Regions from separate parts of the Homo sapiens genome. Here region 2 is linked to region 1. The links are contacts of gene promoters, found by promoter capture Hi-C in blood cells and fetal thymus (Javierre and others, 2016). All regions are on one chromosome and are shown on one strand. The core of a region is centred on a gene start or on the middle of the fragment in contact, and the rest is flanking DNA. Distances in the headings are between cores, read along the strand shown.

The links. The method cuts DNA at HindIII sites, captures the fragments that hold promoters and counts their contacts. A CHiCAGO score of 5 or more calls a contact.
Region 2: a contact is called between a fragment that was not itself captured here and the fragment with the promoter of ZNF619 in region 1, in 1 of 17 cell types (total CD4 T cells). The highest score is 6.4, in total CD4 T cells.

The regions. Positions count from the first base shown.
Region 1 is chr3:40,475,855-40,479,881 of GRCh38, reverse strand. It overlaps ZNF619 (zinc finger protein 619), which reads right to left and starts at 2,760. Exons shown (of 5, transcript NM_001145093.4): 1 at 2,525-2,760; 2 at 1,879-1,964. The coding sequence starts at 1,902. RefSeq lists an enhancer at 2,447-2,586. The HindIII fragment of the contact is 7,181 bases long and covers 1-4,027 here.
Region 2 is chr3:41,205,031-41,208,897 of GRCh38, reverse strand. All of the region lies in intron 1 of CTNNB1 (catenin beta 1), which reads right to left. Among named protein-coding and RNA genes, the nearest start is that of CTNNB1, 7.5 kb to the right of the region's middle. The HindIII fragment of the contact is 1,601 bases long and covers 933-2,533 here.

The DNA of each region.
Region 1 (4,027 bases), core at 1,511-4,010:
AATTCTGTCCCCCAGAGACTATGTGGCAATATCTGGAGACATTTTTAGTTGTCAGAACTGCAGTGTGGTGGTAATGGTAGTGCTACTGGCATCTAGTAGATAGTGGGCCAGGGCCATTTCTGAATATCCTATAATGAACAGGACATCCCCCAAACAAAGAATTATCTGGCCCAAATGTAAATGATGCCAAGGTTGAAAAACCCTGCTCTAAGCTAGACTCCCTAAGTTCAAATAGTATCTCTAATACTCATTAGCTGTTAACTTTGGATGAGACAATTAAACTTTCTGTGCCTCAGTTGCCCCCATTTGTAAAACTGGGATAACAATAGTAATTATCTGAAAGGACTCTTACAAGAATGGCATTAAGTTATTATCTGTAACGCACGAAGATATCACCTGGCACATGATATCATCTAAATCTCAGCACTTACTACAACCACAGATGAGATTGGGGGAACTTCCTAGAAGATTCTAAATGACAAATGTTCCTCTTAGAGATTGTAGCAAAGACTGACAGGTGTGTGTGTACCCCCTTTCTTTCTTAGTATTGGAATCCTAATTTTACTTGAGGTTGCACTCAACCCGGGCAACCAAGTGGGGCCAATGAAATGCAAGTATAAATATTGTTGGGGACTTATGGGAAGGTTCCTAAAAGAGAGAGGTTCATCTTTTTTTGGGCAGCTCCTCTTCTAGCTGGAATGCACACATGATGGCTAGAGATCAAGCAGCCACCTTGGACAATAAAGTGGCCTAGAGCAGGTGAGACACTGCTAGGATGGTAGAGCAGAAAGACAGAGCCTGAGAGCATAATAGGGGAGCTGCCACACTAGCCCTGTATTGACTCTTGATACTTTTGTATGAGAGAGAAGCCTTTACCTCGTTTAATCCACTGTCATTTGGGGTCCTCTTTGGGGAATCTAATCCTAAGTGATTTCTGTACTTCAGGCAAAGCACCAGGAGAGCACAGCATACCCCCACAGCACACTTCCTGACTTGTAGGAATGAATTTTTGCTGAAGTTCTCGAACAGAAGTGGATGGTCCAATATCCACCAAAAGGACACACACATTGTTTTTAAGTCCTTGGGATGGAGCTTTCTCATTACAAGATACATCCATTACATGATAAACTCAGCTTTCTCATTCCATGATCTAGGACACTGGAGAAAAATCCAGTAAAACCATCATCTACCACCAAGAAAACTGGAGGGAAAAGTCCTCCCAATGCTACATGAATTTGTAGCCAAGAAAGGATATAGACTCTCACAGAGGTTAGACTGACGTCTTCGCATTGAGCTAAAGGCACTGGCTTCAGCTCCAAACTCATCATTCCTCCAAAAATACATCTCCCTCATCAATCTACATTTTCCACATGTTTCCAGTTCTGGCTTCACTGTACCTTAACTGAGTGGTCTGCAGGGTAAACTCCTCCCTTGGAAGTGTCTATTTAACCTCAGAAATGGCTTTTCTTTGTGTACTGTGAACGCAGACTAGCACTCCTCAAATTTTAATCTGCCCTTTAATTTTCCAGATCTTGTAAAAATGTAGATTCTGATTTAGGAGATCTGGGGAGGGGGCCTGACATTTTGCCTAACAAGAGCCCTCTGTAATGCAAAAGCTGCTCATCTCCAGGCCACACTTTCAGTTCTCATGAATGCAGATTCCCACTTTCTAGGATAATTCATTCCTTCTTTTCCAACCTACCTGACTCTCCCAAATTCACCTACTCTCGTTCGTCAACTCCCCTCGCATACTGTTTTTACATACTTTATTGAAGGATGTAAAACTAAGCATGAGACTGGCCAAGTCAGGCTACTGGGGCTGTACTGACCTTCCATATCTGTTCTGAGTATGGAAAGCTGAAAGAAAGCTCTGCTCACCTGGAACCACACTGTCTGGAGCATGGCTGATGACCCCTGGCTTCATGCACTGCCCTCTAGGTTTGAAAAAGTAAGAACCTGCGGAGCTAAGAGAGAACCACAATGAGACTGATCTGTCTCGTCTCCTACACTTGCCGCCTCTTCCCCTCTGTCTCCTGCCACTAGCATTGCAGATATTCTTGGCACACTAGCTGCTGTCATTCACCCTCTCCACTGATTCATGGGATGTTGCAAATGCTCCCTCTGCATATTCTCCTATAGATCTGCTTGGTGACACTGGAAACTCTAGAAAGAATATCTGTAAAGTAAGAGTCAAGAACTGCAGTGGATTCGTGGCTGTTTTTTAAAAAAAATTCTTGGCCCCACTATGAATGCATTACTAAACAGTTTGTATTGAATGCTTCTAGTGTTCATGGCAAAAACCCAAAACAAGTCTCTGGAGAGAAAGTAGGATATAACGGGGACCCCTAAACAAACCACAGGCTGCAGGACAAAATATAAGTGGTGACCCAGCCCCGGGTGACAAGGGTAAGACGCTTAATGTCCCAGCGGGTGATGCTGACCGAAGACCTAACCGGGATCTGAACGCTCCACCCTGGGAAGCAGGAGACCCTATAGTCACGGCTCCCATCCTCCCCATGAATACCGCGACCCGAGGACATCAGGCCAGCTCCTCGGAGCAGGAAGGTCGAGGGCGTCTCTGAAGACTGGGGACTGGGCCCAGGCTCTGGCGGCGGCGCGGGCCCCTCGGCGACCTCTGCAAGGGCCCAAAGCCTGACCTCCAGAACAGGTAGCCGAGTCAGGGAAGCCCGGGAAACTCAACCCGAGCGCTCGCAAGGTGGCCAAGACGGAAGCATTAGCTGGCCGGCCGTCGGTCCCTACAGCCTCTCTAGGAAGCCGGGAGGCTGGCCCTTCTCTATGGTTCCCACGAAACGAAACTCCAACCCTTCGCTTCCCTTCTCCACAACCGCTCTGCGCCTGGTTTGTTTGTTTTTTAATTTTAATTTTTTCGTGTGTTTTTTGAAACGGGGGTCTCGCTATGTTGCGCAGGCTGTTCTCGAACTCCTGAGCTCAAGCTGTCCGCCCGCCTCGGCCTCCCAAAGTGCTGGGAATACAGGCGTGAGCCACCGCGCCCGGCCGCTCCTGTTTTTCTTTATTATTTTCTCTTATGTCTTAGTACCCCAACTACATGATAAATTCCTCCATATTTAACAATTTGTAACTTAATTAACTGAATTCCTAATTCCTTACCTAATTACTTAATTCCTAACTTAACCTTCTAATGAATTTATAGCCCCTGTCTCCCACTGAATGACTGTGACCTAAGACCATGGGGTATGGTGTCTCATTGTCTGCGTTCCTGGCTCCACTCTATATGGACTTGCTCAAGTTATACTTAAATCGTTGCCTCAATTTATCAGTTGAGAATGGTAAAAGTTTGTAATTTATAAATTCAGTGAATTAACTGAGTCAATTCATGCAACAGTTTTGTAAACCAAAAATAAAATTCTAAGTCCCCCAACCAACTGAATGGACCACTTCTCTCAGCCAAAACATTCCAAAGAAAACCTGGCAATCTAGTTCAGGCCATGATGGGAAGCAGGGGATCGGACTTGCCTCGTTATGCCCTTGGAATTCAGGCACTACGGACCAGCATTAACATTAAAACAGAGATCTTGAGACTGACTAAAACTTTTTTTTTTTTTTTCCGAGATGGAGTCTTACTCTGTAGCCCAGGCTGGAGTACAGTTTCCCGATCTCGGCTCACTGCAACCTCCGCCTCCCGGGTTCAAGCAATTCTCCTGCCTCAGCCTCCTGAGTAGCTGGGATTACAGGAACGTGCCAACACGCCCGGCTAATTTTTGTATTCTTAGTAGAGACGGGATTTCACCATGTTGACCAGGCTGGTCTTGAACTAGACCTCGTGATCGCCCGCCTCGGCCTCCCAAAGTGCTGGGATTACAGGCGTGAGCCACCACGCCCAGCCCAAAACAAACTCTTTATAGCAATAAGACATCAAATTCTAACCTGACTCTAGTATAGTCTCATGTGACAGATAACAGGCCCTGAAATAAACTGAAGTATTTTACCCTAAAATGTATTTCTTTGACATATTTTGAAATGACCCTGTAAAGCTGTCTTTTGTGAA
Region 2 (3,867 bases), core at 484-2,983, 730 kb before region 1:
AGAGACGGAGAAAAAATTTTTTTTGTAATGGGATAATACCATGTTTGCTCATGGAAAGAGCCAGTAGAGACAAGAAAAGAGAGATACCACAGTAATATTCTTGAGAGCAAGAGGGGATGGAATCTGCTGTACAAATGAACTGAGTGGCCTTATCTTGGAAGGCTACAGTTCATCCAGTGACAGAGGAGAAGATAAAGGACATGGTCATAGATACAAGAGATCACTGGGCATGAAGCCAGGGAGGGACAAGATTGTTAAACGTGTATACGAGAAAGTGATTATAATTCAGTATGAAACTTCAGCTGTATAGAAGTGAGGGTGAGGAACAGGGAAAAGCTTGGATAGATAAACTGTAGGTCCCAATGGGATTGATGGGCTGTTGGAACTGACGTATTTACTAGAGGAATTAGAAAGTGGGATGCTTGAAATGAGATTGGGGGAAGAGAGCAGAGTTACAGATAAAAGACAAAATATTCTAGGATATGACAATGGGAATATGTAGTTGAGTTAGGGTAGAAAATAAGATCACTGGAGAAGAAATCAAGGAACTAAGAGACCAGGATATTGGAAGCATCTTCTACATCAAAATTTGTACCAGACTGTAAATCAACATATTGCGTCCTTCATCAAAATCTTGCTACAAAAAAAGTAAGCTAAACAGTAAACTTAGTGACACAGGTGACTTATATTCTGGCATAACTCCTTATCTTAATTCATACAGGTAACAGTTACCAGACCACATCTTCACTAGTATTGCTCTACATAGATACTGATGTCACCAAGAATTATGACAGAAATAAGAGACAGTGACAATGAGCCAAGAGCTAATGAAGTGAACAAAGAAGGATGTGAATGACCCAGGAAGGTTTGCAGGTGCTTGAAATAAAGACAGGCAGTGGGTGGTATAATTTGATCACATGAAAGTCAAAGCTTGAAGTTTTGGAAAATAAAGGTCAAGAAGTGACAATAAGGAACAAAAGCAGACATTTAGTCCACACACCTCCTAGTTCAGTGTTATAAGGTGTGCAAGAAGGGAAAAATTCACCACTTGAGAGAGCTGCAAGGGAAGTAGCATTCTTGGGGAGAAGGCTAGGTTACAGCTGGAATAAGAAAGAAAGGAACATTCACAAGATTGAGAATATAAAGGATTTTCTAACGACTGAGTTCCAGAAGTTACAATGAATGGATTTCAGATGATGAAAGGTGGGAGATGGGGACCAAAAAAAGCAACAGGATTAGAGTCTGGGGGATAAGAGTTAAAACAGAAGAGCCAGTGTAACTAAAGTAACAATGTCCTTGAAAAGGCATGCCTCAGGACTGGCCTCTGCCCAGAATGCAGTACTACTTCCTTCATTGTAAAGACAGACCATTGATGAAATCTGATGGTAACAAGGTGAAGGGGTTCCTACTTAGCTCCTGATGGGGGAGAGGAGAGGGGAAGTTCAGGAGAAAAGGGAAGGTATTAAACAGCCCTTCTGTCTTAGATCTTTTCAGACAAATGTAATAGAATCTGCAGCATAATGGCAATAAGGAAAAACCTGAGGCCCTTTAGCATATAATGAGGGCGCTCTTCAAGCATGAGAAGTATTCTTCTAAAAAATCAAATTTTAATTATTTCCCAGCACCCACTTATCAGCAACACCATTTTAACCATAATTAATTACTCTGCCTCAACGGTGACCCCTGATCTTCTGGCATTCCTAGATATCTCATCTGTAAACTTTCTAGCCTCTTCTTATTCTATGGGGAACAGAATGCTGACACTCTGAATCAGGACCCAGGAAAAACGACAGCACAATTAAGCAGGAAACAGTGATCAACGGGGGACAACTACGATATACAAAGTAACAAGATAGTTGGGCTTGAAAACTAAACAATAAAATTCAGCAAAATGCCAGAAAATTGATATACTAAATTTATAATCTATTTAAAGAGCGGTATGTCAGTGTATTACGTTTCCTAAATAGCATTCAGTTTGTAACTTTTGTATCTAAATGAACTATAAAGTATAAGCGAAGTTTGAGGACATTCTTTCAATGGCTCAGAAAGGAATTTAAGGGTCTACCCCAGCACTTTCCTACACAGGGGAATGAACTCCACTTGGAAGCCTCCAAAGTTACTTGGATTGAAAAATATTTCCAAGAATCCCTTGTTCCTCCCTTATACATGTGGCATTCATCTAGTATATGCAAAACTTCAAAGACACTCACTCCCTACACCCTTACCCCAAAACCACTTAATTATACTTAAAAAAGAGAGAGAGGGAGTACAGTTCCTAATCCCTATTACAGCTGTTCAGTTTACTTCACAGTAAAGGAAAATTAGGAGCAGTTTGCAACAACTATCCCCCAGTGTAGCAAACTACTATCACCACTTAAGATCATCTTCAAATTGCACTCCCAAGAAATTTTGCAGTAAATTTAACTTCTTACACATTTTTATATGGACATCCAATAAGGTATGCTATATATATGCACATATATATGCATATATCTATTTCTGCTATTACAAAACCCTGTTAGTAAGAGAAGCTTATCACACTAAACCTAACACTTCAGCTTTTTTGTACGTCTTTGGCTTCCAACTCAGCTACCAGCATTTAAGATTTATTAATCATAAGGTTTATATGCCATGTAGACTGATTAACTTGAACTAACTTAAAGTAGGTTAAAAATACCCCCCAAGTTTTAAACGGTTTAACATATCTGTTACAAGTCAGTTAAAAAGAATTAGTCCAGCAACATGTGAATTACTAAAACAGAAGTAAAACCGTGGGGATATTAGTGAAAAAATAAAAATATGGAAATAAATAGGGGAGAAAATGGAAGTGTTATGAAGCAGTTTCACCCCAGCATCATTCAGATGTTCACACTCTTCAAACCATCATAAAGAGGGGGTGGAAAAGCCTTTTCAACAAGTTCAAAAGATACCAGAGGTAGGAAACTTCTGGGATATTACACAAGAAACTTTACAGTGGTTCCACGAAGTCTCATGGAGATTGTGGGATAGACTTGGGGTGAGACGCCTTTAGGATTAATGTTTCATGAATGGTTCACTGATCTGCTTGTATTTTACACCATCGTATCGTAATAAAAATAATTGCAGACTACAGCATTATTTTCAGATGATGCTTTTTAAACCAACACCGGCCTATGATTTACATTTTCACTCCAGTCACTTAAACACGGAGTTTGAAGACTAAACACCCCACTTTTCTTTCTTGAGATGGAGTCTCGCTCTGTTGCCCCAGCTGGAGTGCAGTGGCGTGATCTCAGCTCACTGCAACCTCCGCTTCCCAGGTTCAAGCAATTCTCATGCTTCAGACTTCCAAGCAGCTGGGATCACAGGCACCTGCCACCATGCCTGGCTAATTTTTGTATTCACCACGTCGGCCAGGCTAGTCTCGAACTCCTGACCTCAGGTGATCCACCCTCCCCAGCCTCCCAAAGTGCTGGTACTACAGGCACCAGGCCACCCCACTTTTCAAAATCTGGAAATACCTTGTTAGCAGCAAAAGATTTAACCAAAATCGATTTAACTGCCTACATAAACTTAAATTGGCCAAAAAGCCATTTGCCATTAATTTAAGTAAAACGTTTATATTCAATTAATTTTTAATTACCTAAACTGTTTTTAAGTTTTGGATCTAGTCTAACAGTAATAGTTTAGCTTAGAAATGCAAACTTCTGGTAAAAAGGACATGATTTAAAGACCAGTAAAATTGGGGGCTGACTTGAGTTGTATACACAGAATTTGTCCAGCATTTGACGTCCCTTCAGATTAAGTTTTGAGACCTCTTAAAAATACACTTAAAGAACTCTATTTAAGATGGTTGAGTAATAAGAAAGTTACTTCTCCCCCTTTTCC